3 separate regions of the Homo sapiens genome follow, and all the other regions are linked to region 3. The links are contacts of gene promoters, found by promoter capture Hi-C in blood cells and fetal thymus (Javierre and others, 2016). All regions are on one chromosome and are shown on one strand. Each heading gives the region's core, a stretch centred on a gene start or on the middle of the fragment in contact. The rest is flanking DNA. Distances are from core to core; before and after follow the strand shown. Region 1 holds the start of NOL6 (nucleolar protein 6). Region 2 holds the start of UBE2R2 (ubiquitin conjugating enzyme E2 R2). Region 3 holds the start of KIF24 (kinesin family member 24).

Evidence for each region. The method cuts DNA at HindIII sites, captures the fragments that hold promoters and counts their contacts. A CHiCAGO score of 5 or more calls a contact.
Region 1: a contact is called between the fragment with the promoter of NOL6 here and the fragment with the promoter of KIF24 in region 3, in 1 of 17 cell types (neutrophils). The highest score is 5.1, in neutrophils.
Region 2: the fragment with the promoter of UBE2R2 here is called in contact with the fragment with the promoter of KIF24 in region 3 in 3 of 17 cell types (neutrophils, erythroblasts and total B cells); the score reaches 7.9 in neutrophils.

What each region holds. Positions count from the first base shown.
Region 1 is chr9:33,472,374-33,476,067 of GRCh38, forward strand. It overlaps NOL6 (nucleolar protein 6), which reads right to left and starts at 1,551. Exons shown (of 26, transcript NM_022917.5): 1 at 1,416-1,551; 2 at 1-39. The coding sequence starts at 1,469. It overlaps LOC107987061 (a long non-coding RNA gene), which reads left to right and starts at 1,767. Exons shown (of 3, transcript XR_001746648.3): 1 at 1,767-1,824. RefSeq lists an enhancer at 1,163-1,502. The HindIII fragment of the contact is 3,045 bases long and covers 128-3,172 here.
Region 2 is chr9:33,815,082-33,818,767 of GRCh38, forward strand. It overlaps UBE2R2 (ubiquitin conjugating enzyme E2 R2), which reads left to right and starts at 2,079. Exons shown (of 5, transcript NM_017811.4): 1 at 2,079-2,853. The coding sequence starts at 2,677. UBE2R2-AS1 (UBE2R2 antisense RNA 1) reads right to left here. Exons shown (of 5, transcript NR_170204.1): 1 at 3,546-3,686. RefSeq lists an enhancer at 1,589-1,678 and silencers at 1,969-2,068, 2,249-2,458, 2,529-2,698. The HindIII fragment of the contact is 11,190 bases long and covers 1-3,686 here.
Region 3 is chr9:34,327,532-34,330,954 of GRCh38, forward strand. It overlaps KIF24 (kinesin family member 24), which reads right to left and starts at 1,737. Exons shown (of 13, transcript NM_194313.4): 1 at 1,575-1,737. NUDT2 (nudix hydrolase 2) reads left to right here and starts at 2,038. Exons shown (of 5, transcript NM_001161.5): 1 at 2,038-2,068. RefSeq lists enhancers at 1,404-1,463, 1,564-1,663, 1,751-2,258, 1,794-1,983. The HindIII fragment of the contact is 30,936 bases long and covers 1-3,423 here.

The DNA of each region.
Region 1 (3,694 bases), core at 301-2,800, 860 kb before region 3:
CCCCTCTTTGCCTGTGCCTTCCAGGGCTGGTTCCATCACCTGTGGCCAGTGAGGGAGAAGCCATTTTGAGGTAATAGGTATCTAGCATCTGCTGCCTAAAGTGCCACCATGATAGGTTGTGGGTAAAAGCTTCACCTGCTCTGTCCCTCTTTTGAGTAGGAGTCAGATTTTGTAAAACTCAGGAGAATCGTTACTTGGATGAACATCACTGAGCGCTGAGCCGAAAATTCCTTGAGTTAAGAGCTCTCCTGTCTACCTGACACCACAAGCATGGAGCTCTGTTTGGAATTGGTAGTGATAGAAGCTGACTGGGCCCAGGCTGGACACGGTGGCTGACGCCTGTAATCCCAGCAGTTTGGGAGGTGGAGCTGGGCGGATCAGCTGAAGTCAGGAGTTCGAAATCAGCCTGGCCAACATGGGGAAACTCCGTCTCTATTAAAAATACAAAAATTAGCCAGGTGTGGTGGCACATGCCTGTAATCTCAGCTACGCGGGAGACTGAGGCAGGAAAATCACTTGAACCCAGGAGGCAGAGGCTGAAGTGAGCCGAGATCGTGCCATTGCATTCTAGCCTGGGCAACAGAGCAAGACTGTCAAAAAAAAAAAAAAAAAAAAGAAGCTGACTGAGCCCTGCCCTAAGTAATGCCCAGGCCCCTTGTATTTTCAGGAAGTTTCCTCTTCTGCTGATATAGGCCTGGGACTTCTCAAATGTCTTTCCCATTCTCGCTCCAACCAAATCCTGCCAGGTTCCACCTCCTCTAGGAAGACCTGACTGCCTCAGTTTACACTAAATACTCACTGATGGAAGGAGCTAGAACCGACTGGACCCCAGAGGACACATTTAGCAAGTCATTAAATCCTCAAAATAATTCTTGAAGACACTTGAAGTCCCACTATTCACTCGAGGTTCCACAACTGGTACACCCGTACTATGAGCAGGCTTCAAAGGCAAGCGTGCAGGATCCCAAACCTTTTCCCCTACAGCCGTGGGCCCATCCGCTCCACGATGCCTCTCATCCCAGAGAGCCTTACTGGAGCGCTCCAGGAGAGGCACCGTATGCCCTCCGCTACAGCGGGGAGCACAGAACTGGACACAAATTCTGTGGAGGAAGATCCCGCTTATCGTCAAGGACCACCAAATAAAAGAAACGACCCAAGTGTGGGTCTCTTCAACTTTGAGGTGCAGAGCTCCAGAAGAGAGCAGAGGCTCTACCGGCTTCACTGCTTCTAACCAAATACTGCCAGGTTCCATCACCCCTAGCAAGCCCTGTCTCAGTGCCACTGGCTGGAAACATCCTCCAGAATGGGCCGCCGGCATGGCTTTCACCCGCAAGCTGTCAGATCACGCCATCTCGGGCCCTGCAGCCAAGGGAGCGCACATTGAGCCTCTGTTCCTCCCCGATGGCTCAACCCACCTCTGGCTCTCCAGTCGCTCCGCGAAGCTGCTCTCCAGCTGGCGCCGGCCCCATCACTCAGGGTCCAGCACTCTCCCGCACTTCAGATTCTAGCCGGGTCTATACCTCATAGCTTCCCACGTGGGCGGAAATGCCTAACTCCAGGCCCAAGTCCAGCCCACCCCAATTCCTCAGGACTCCACCCACTCCAGAGCTATTGGATTATCAGTCGATTACTCGCTTGCCATTGGCCGGGCAGTCTCAAGGCCCGCCCATTAGGGGAGGGGACAAACGGGTTTCTGTGCTTTACGGCCTCTTCGCGACGCTAGAACGGAAGCCTGCCCGTAGCTAGGCCTTTGCTTTCTTTTCCTCACTTCCTTCGCGTGGCTGCAATCGGGAAGGGCGGAGCTAGTTTGTTCCTTTTGGTCAGGTTTGTTTACAGCAGTTATTCCTCCCTTTTTCTTTATTTGCTACACCTTATCAGTTAACAAATCTTGTCAGTTCTACCTCCAAAACATACCTTGAATTTATTCATTTTTCTGTGTCTTCACTGCCAGGTTTAGCCCGTCACATCATCTTGTTCCCGAATTATTGTTATGACTTTTCTCCAGTTTTTACTTATTACTTAGCTTATTACAATTTCAAGTAATTTAGTTATTTTTATTTATTTATTTATTTATTTATTTATTTATTTATTTATTTATTTTTGGAGTAGTCTTGCTCTGTCGCCCAGGCTGGAGTGCAGTGGCACGATCTCAGCTCCCTGCATCCTCCCTCTCCCAGGCTCAAGCGATTCTCGTGCCTCAGCCTCCTGAGGAGCTGGGATTACAGGCAGGTACCATCACACCCGTCTAATTTTTGTATTTTCACTAGAGATGGGGTTTCCTCATGTTGCCTAGGCTGGTCTCAAACTCCTGACTGCCAGTGACCCGCCCACCTTGGCCTCCCGAAATGCTGGGATTACAGGCCTGAGCCACTGCTCCCGGCCTATTTTTAAACTATTAAAAATTTAAAACAAATGTTGCAAGAATAATATAATGAATGCGCATATACTCTTCACCTAGATTCACTTAGTGTTACTATTTTGCCAAGTTTATCTTTACCTATGTATTTACATATTATTTTGCAAAACCATTTGAAAACCAATCACACATCTCCCTAAATACTTAGGTATGTATCTACTAAGATCAAGGACTACCTCTTATGTAAGCACAGCCCGATTATGAAATTAAGGAAATTTAATCGTGATTCAATACTAGTATACAAATTCCATCTTTAAATTTTGTCAGTTATTCCAGTAATAACCGTTATATGTTTCATTTTATTTCCTAATGCAGGATCATCTAAATTCAACTATTACCATATAATATATATATATATATATATATATATATATATATATATATTTTTTTTTTTTTTTTTTTTTTTTTTTTTTGAGAGAGAGTGAGTGTCCCTCTGTTGCCCAGGCTAGAGTGCAGTGGGTCGATCTCAGCTTACTGCAACATCCACCTCCTGGTTCAATTGATTATTGTGGCTCAGCTTCCCAAGTAGCTGGGATTACAGGCATGCGCCAACACACCAGGCCAATTTTTGTATTTTTAGTAGAGACAGAGTTTCACCATGATGGCCAGCCTGATCTCAAACTCTGGCCTCAAGTGATCTGCCCTCCTCAGTCTCCCAAAATGCTGGGATTACAGGGGTGAGCCACCGTGCCCAGTCTAAAAATTTGTATTGAAGTACAATATACATAAGGAAAAATGTACATATCCCAAGTGTAAAGCTTGAATACTAACAAACCAAACATACTCATATAGTCAGCTCCCAGAAAATAAGCAGAACATTTCCTGCACCTTCAGAATCTCCCCTCATGCTGCCCTCTAGTAACTCTGCCCCCAACAATCACTATTCTGACTTCAAACAGTGCAGGTCAGTTTATACAATAGCTTTTTTATTATTTATTATTTATTTATTTATTTATTTTTTGAGACAGAGTCTCACTCTGTCGCCCAGGCCGGAGTGCAGTGGCACGATCTCGGCTCACTGCAAGCTCCACCTCCCGGGTTCAAGTGATTCTCCTGCCTCAGCCTGCCAAGTAGCTGGGACTACAGGCGCCCGCCACCACGCCCGGCTAATTTTTTGTATTTTTTAGTAGAGACGGGGTTTCACCGTGTTAGCCAGGATGGTCTTGATCTCCTGACCTCATGATCCACCCGCCTTGGCCTCTGAAAGTGCTAGGATTACAGGCGTGAGCCACCGCGCCCGGCTATGCGATAGCTTTTTAAGGAAGTTTCAGAAGAGCG
Region 2 (3,686 bases), core at 829-3,328, 510 kb before region 3:
ATAATCCCAGTCTAATCATGAGAAAAGCATCACAATCCCAATTGAGGGACAGTCTACAAAATACTTGACCAGTATTCTTCAAAACTGTTAAGGTCATCAGAACAAAGTCTAAGAAACTGCCACAGTCAAGAGGAATCTACAGAAACAGGAAAACTGAATGTAGTCTGGTATCCTGGATGAGATCCTGGAACAGCAAAAGGTCAGTAGGTAAAAATTAGGGAAGTATGAGCTTCAGTCAACAGTGATGTATCAATATTAGCTCATTAATTGTAATACATGTACTCTACTAATGTAATATGTTAATAAAAGGGGGAACTGGGCGCCAGGTGTAGGGGAACTTGACTATCTTTTCAATTTTTCTATAAATCTAAAACTGTCCTTGGCTGGGCACAGTGGCTCACGCCAGTAATCCCAGCACTTTGGGAGGCTGAGGTGGACGGATCACCTGAGGTCAAGGGTTGGAGACCAGCCTCGCCAACATGGTGAAATCCCGTCTCTACTAAAAATACAAAAATTAGCTGGGCATGGCTGTGCACACCTGTGGTCCTGCTACTTGGGAGACTGAGGTTAGAGGATGGCTTAAGCCCAGGAGGTTACTGCTAGAGTGAGCTATAATCACTCTACTGTACTCCAGCCTGGGCAACAGAGTAAGACCCTGTCTCAATAAAAGGGGTGGGTAGTGGTGGTATCCAGAATACAGCTATGCCTTAAAGTTTTTTTCTTTCAAGTTTCTATGAATCATTAACCATGTGCCAGTCACTACGCTAAATGCTGTACATACATTTAATCATTACAATTGCTTGTGTTGGGTATAATTAATCCCCTTTTACAGAAGCTGATTAAACAGCCGGGTGTGGAGGCATGCACCTGTAGTCCTAGCTACTTGGGAGGCTGAGGTGGGAGAATCGCTTGAACCTGGGAGGCGGAGGTTGCAGTGGGCCATGATCGCGCCACTGTGCTACAGCCTGGGTGACAGAGCAAGACCCTGTCTCAAACAAAACAAAACCAAAAAACAAAAAACTGATGATACAGGGAGAAGTAATGGAACTAGGGTTGGAACCAAGATCTGTCTAGTTCCGAAACTGTGTGTGTAGAACTCTCACAATATTCTGGCTTTTCTAGGAAATGTTTTTTAGGCAGTTATCCTAGGACATGCCTTCCTAGGAGAAAGGAGTACTGTATTCTGAACCACGGGGGGACCAAAGACTGTCCCCACATCTCACTTCGGTTATGATTATCTCGAAAGTCCCTCAGTTCCAGGGTGGACATTCAAGCCACAAGCACCTATAGGGAACTTTGACCCCTAAGTTCAACCACAGTAGTTTATTTTACAAATGGCGAAGGCGAAGGGCAGCCTGAGCACTTGCCCCAAATCACAATGAGAAGGGCTAGAGACCCAGTTTGTTATTGTCTTTTTCCTCACAACTTCCTCTTTGTAGTTAAGAAGGGAAGCAGAAGCTGACCTTTTTGTCTCACCCCGTTTCTCACGTGGAACTGCCGCACCCAGGGTGAGTAACGTGCCAAAGGGCACACTTGCCTGTGGGCTGGCCTGCGGGAAGGTCTGTTCCCACCGAAAAGACCCACATTGTCAGCACATCCTAATCAAGTAGCTACTAAGTGGAGGGACCGCAGACTGGGTGTCACGGGGAGGGGCCTGCAGCGACCAGGCCCGTCCCAGGATGGCTGCGGAGGCCCCTGGATCCACAGTGGGGAGGGCCCCGAGAGCCGGGAGACCTGGGTTCCCTTCCCGGGCACGCCTTTGGAACTGCGGCGTCCAGCCGCACAACCGTCACTCTGGGGCCACGGCAATCCCTGCGCCCGCCCTTGGTCCCCGCTGCTTCTGGGATCTTTATGGGCGGGGGACACGCGCCAGCGTCACAAAGCGCCGCGACCGCGCGGGAGACCGAGAGGAGGCGTGGAAACGGGAGGAGGAGGAGGTGGTAGTGGAGGAGAGCCAGGCACGGTGGGGGGAGGGGAGGGAGGGGCACGCGCACGCGCGTCGGGCCGCCAGCCGCTGAGAGCCGCCCAGCACCCGGCGTGCGCCCCTCCTCCCTCTCTCCCTCCCTCCCTCCCTCCCTGCTTCTCGGCTCCGTTGCTCCCGCGGCGCGAGGCGCTCTCGCTCTCCTCCTCCTCCGCCGTCGCCCCTCCCCCCGCGCAGCCCCCGCCGCCACCGCCGCGAGACCCCCGCACGCCGCTCTCCCCCCACCCTCTCCTGCCCCGCGCGCCCTCCGGCCCCTGCGGCCCCCGAAGAGAACGAGAGGGCGAGCGAGCGCGGCGTTCCCGGGCCGGCCCGGCCCCCTCCCTTCACCATCGCCGGCCCTCCGCCGCCTTCCTCCGCTTCCACCTCCTCTCCCCCCCCCCAAGTTGAGGCCCCCTCCGGGGGGGGGAGGCCCGGGACCGGGACCCGTAGCGAATTCTCCTAACTCCCTCGACCTCTCCTCTCGCCCGGCCCGAGTGTGAGGAGAAGGGCCCGGCCCGGCCTGCGTCGTGTGTGAGGAGGACCCCGGGCGGGCCCACGGGCCGTGTGGGGCCTGGTCTGGCCCGCCGGGTGTGTGAAGACCGGGGCCCGGTGCTGCCCGGCCGGAGGGCGAGCGGAGGGGAGGGGCCTGGTCCGGCCCGGCCGGTGCGTGAGGACTGGGGCCCGGGCCCGGCGCCGCCGCCGCCGCCGCCGCCGCGATGGCCCAGCAGCAGATGACCAGCTCGCAGAAGGCCCTGATGCTCGAGCTGAAATCCCTGCAGGAGGAACCGGTGGAGGGCTTCCGGATCACCCTGGTGGACGAGTCCGACCTCTACAACTGGGAGGTGGCCATCTTCGGACCCCCCAACACCCTCTACGAAGGCGGCTACTTCAAGGTACCCTCACCCTCCTCCCGGACCCTGCTTCCGCGGCCGAGGCCTCCGGCTCCCCGCCGCTTTCTGCAGTTCCTGGGACCAGGAGTATGAGCACGGGCGAGTGGAGGGGGCTTCTCACCCGTGCAGCCCCCTCCCCCATCCCTGGAGGCAGGAAGGCCTTGCTCGCCGAGTGCCTTTTCTTTGTCATGGGGGCGGGGGCTCGGGCGGGGGCGGGAGGGCAGGCTGCACCGGGAAATCGGAGAGCCTCTCTGGTTAGGGTAGTGTCTACGGGCGGAGGAGGCCGCCTTTGTTTCCCCCGCTGAGGGTGGGTGGAAAGAGCGGTGGTCTATCTGTGCTTTTTCGTTCTCCGGTCGGAACCCCTCCCTGCGCAGGCTGGAACTGCCCCAGAGGGCAGGGTGACCTGCACCGACTGGATTGGACTTTTCTTTTTTGGGGGGTGGGGGTGGGGGTGGGGTGGGGGAGGGGCACCAGCTTGTCATTTCAGAAGCTGCCGAGTGCCCTGACATTTTGAGGATTTGTTGGGCATCTTGGGTAGTGGTAGTGCCAACTTTGCATTCCAATGGGTGGTGGTGAAGAATGGGACCCTAGGGGTGGTAAAAAAAAAAAAAAAAAAAAAAAGGGTGCCCGCGTCGTCTTGTCATTATCCATTTGGGGGAACTTTAACCCTCTTTCCGTTCACATTCTCTGCTTACCTCAGTCACTGGTTCTTTCAAAATGCCCTTTGTCCTCACCATGCCACCAAGTTTGCCAACCTTTTTTTCTACAGGTAGAAGTATCCACAAAGGGTGGAACGAGTCATGTAGGGAGACTGATAGCTTCCTACTTTCAGAGAC
Region 3 (3,423 bases), core at 487-2,986:
CATATAAAGCCCTGGATACAGTGCTTTGTACGGGGTGAACACTCAATAAATGGTAACTACTACTTTCAGCAGCTAAAAAAAAAGTCTGTATGGTCTTTGGAAGGCTGAGAGTGTGTGGTCTACCTGACATCAACTACTTGACTTGAGAGTAGAGCCACAGGAATTTTAATCTAATTCAATTCTTTGATTTTCCAGATGGAAAAAATGAGGTCTAAAGGGGCTAGATTCAGGCGTTCAAGGCTGCGGTGAGCTATTATCATGCTAGTGCACTACAGCCTGGGTGACAGAGCAAGACATTTTCTCTAATAAAAAAAAAATAATAATAATAATAAAGGGACTAAATGACTTGCAAAGCCACCCACAGTGAATTAGAGACAGAGACAGAGCCAAAGCCAAACCCACATGTAGTGGGTTTCCACTACATGTCACAGCTATAAGGTAGTGTTTCAAACTTTTATAAAAGGGTAACAAGAACATAGCTGCTGTACTGAACTTTTTCACTCCTTTTATTAAGGCCACCAGTGAGCTATGAATTTGATATAAGGAGCAATCACACCAACAATCAGGCTGTGAATATATAATCCATGAGTTAACAACGAAACAGTCTTAGGAACGCAATTCTATCATAGACACCTGATGAATAGATGGAGTTCACCTGAGCAGCTGTTATATGCACTTCAATAGAGAGACTACAAAGCCTCTCTACTTGTAGAATACAAGTACAAAGAAGATGCTTTAAAACATTTTCCAAAGCACACTTAAAATGTGACAATAGCTGCCGGTCACTAAGAAGCTAAAGGGAGATAAATTATCTTGGCATACAGCAACAGAATGGTTTATTTTAAGCAAAGACTAAAAGGAGTCTAATAAAATTATTGGGAGACCAAGGCTAAAAGCCACAGATGCAGGAAGAGTTGCAGCAACCAATCCAAAAAAGTTTAGCCTTTCACAAAGAGTAGAAAGGCCAGCTGTGGACTGTGTGTGGACTTTTAGGTCCTTTTGCATTGAAGATTAGGGTGGCCTCCCCCTAGCCTCGAAATAAAAAATCGTCTCTGAAGCAGAGAGACAACAAGGCAGGGCATGAAGAGGAATCCAATCTATTTCTTGTAAATTAAATTCAACTCAACAAATATTTCCTGAAAATCTACTATGTGCAAGACATTGTGAACGATGCTTGCCTTACCTCAAAGGCTTCAAAATTTTATGGGAAAAGGGAAGCGAACGGGCTTCCCGGAAGTAAACAACCCAAGGGCGAATAGAAATGCCCTAAAAGAGGTGCCGGTCAGGCTTATCGGTTCAAAAGCAAGAAGGCTTTGGGACTCAAGAGTTTAGTCTCCCAAAGTGAGAGAAGTGGCGTTCAAGATAATTGCTGAAGAAAAGGCAGAGATATGGGGATGAAAGATAGGAAAGTAGGTGAACTTTAGGAAGAGCCAAGAGGGGCCAACTCTCGGTTCCCTCACAACTGCCAGTTTCCTCCCGCGCTCAGCCGACGTCACGCGCACCCGTGTCCGCGGGCAGGCGCCACGGTTCCGGACCAGACCTACCCCTCCTCTATTCTCCCCGCCCTTTCTCACCTCGGTCCAAACTCCTCGGTCTGCCCTGTCTGAGAAGAGGAGAAGACAATGCCGTCGGGAGTGAGCCCCAAAGCCCGCAACCTAACAGTCCCGTCAACCCGGGAGCCACCGGCGGCGGCCAGGCCGCATCTCCATGGCAACGCCGCCAAGCGCCAGTTCGAACGCCCGCGCTGTGGCCCGCGCGTCGCCAGTCCCGCACCGCCCACCAATGGGCATCCAAGGAATCGGTTGACGTTCGTTGACTTCTCCTCTGGAAGACCAATCAGAGGTCTGAAGAAACCGTGGGCGTAACTCTCAATTTCCGACCTTCAGCCAATCGTTCCGCTTGAGGGAAGATCTCGCGACGTTTCAGTGTGAGACGCGCACCTTTGAGGCGGGTCGAAGATCCTTCTGCCGAATTCTATTGATGGGCCCAAGCGTAACCAGGCTCTTCTGATTGGCCGGTGTACTTCAGTTTCCGTCCAAGGTCCGCCTCCTACCTCCTTCTGCTTCGGGTGAGTACCCTTAAGGGCCCACTTGATTTTAGTTCTCAGTGGAGGAAATGAGCCTTGGAGCGATGGGAATCTGCCTCTGGCAAACCTCTGGTCGCTGCAGGGCCCGAGAGGGATGCGCCCTCCTCTAAGTTGGCAGTGAGGTGTGGGCAGGCCAGGTCCCATCCGCTCTCAGGACCTCAGTTTTCCTGTCTGCACCGGGAGAAGGGAGGTTCCCTGACTCTGAGCCTTGCTTGTCCCCGTCGGAGTGGGGATAGGGTGGGTCGTCCAAATCCCAGAGGCGGGAGAGGTCCAGGTTTAGGGCCCAGAGGCCCAGGCGCCGAACCTTCCCCTCCCTGGGCCTCAGTTTCACTTGTTGCTACCCATTAAACCCCGCCTGCTTTCCAAAAGAGATTTTATGTTTTCTAATTGCTTCAGTTATTGAATGGATAATATCGTGGCAGTTATAGCAGAAGTAAAGAAAGTCGAACAAGAGCCCCACCGCCTTAAACAAACAAACAAAAAAGGGACAGCGTAAACAATGCAGGCCGGGTGCGGTGGCTCACGCCTGTAATCCCAGCATTTTGGGAGGCCAAGGCGGGCGGATCACGAGGTCAGGAGATCGAGACCATCCTGGCTAACACGGTGAAACCCCGTCTCTACTAAACAAAATACAAAAGTTAGCCAGGCGTCGTGGCGGGCACGTATAGTCCCTGCTACTCGGGAGGCTGAGGCAGGAGAATGGCATGAACCCAGGAGGCGGAGCTTGCAGTGAGCGGAGGTCGCGCCACTGCACTCCAGCCTGGGCGACAGAGCGAGACTCCGTCTCAAAAACAAAACAAAACAAAAAAAAACTGAATGCAATCAAATTGTCAAATGTAAAACGCTATTATAGAGTTAAGGTTAAGATCATTGATGTTAGGAGTCAGGCAGACCTACATTTGAGTCACTTACCCAGACATCTCTGAGCTATAGTTCCCTTTCTACTCTTCTGAAAAATGGCAGTAATGCCTCAGCGGGTTGTTGTGAAGATTAAGTGAAATAATGAAGGTAAAGCACTTGACACAACGCCTGGCGAGTAGTAACTTCTTAAAAAATGGTAGCGGCCGGGCGCGGTGGCTCACGCCTGTAATCCTAGCCCTTTGGGAGGCCGAGGCGGGCGGATCACGAGGTCAGGAGATCGAGACCATCCTGGCTGACACGGTGAAACCCCGTCTCTACTAAAAACACAAAAAATTAGCCGGGCGTGGTGGCGGGCGCCTGTGGTCCCAGCTACTCGGGAGGCTGAGGCAGGAGAATGGCACGAACCCGGGAGGCGGAGTTTGCAGAGAGCAGAGATCGCACCACTGCACTCCAGCCTGGGCGACAGAGGGAGACTC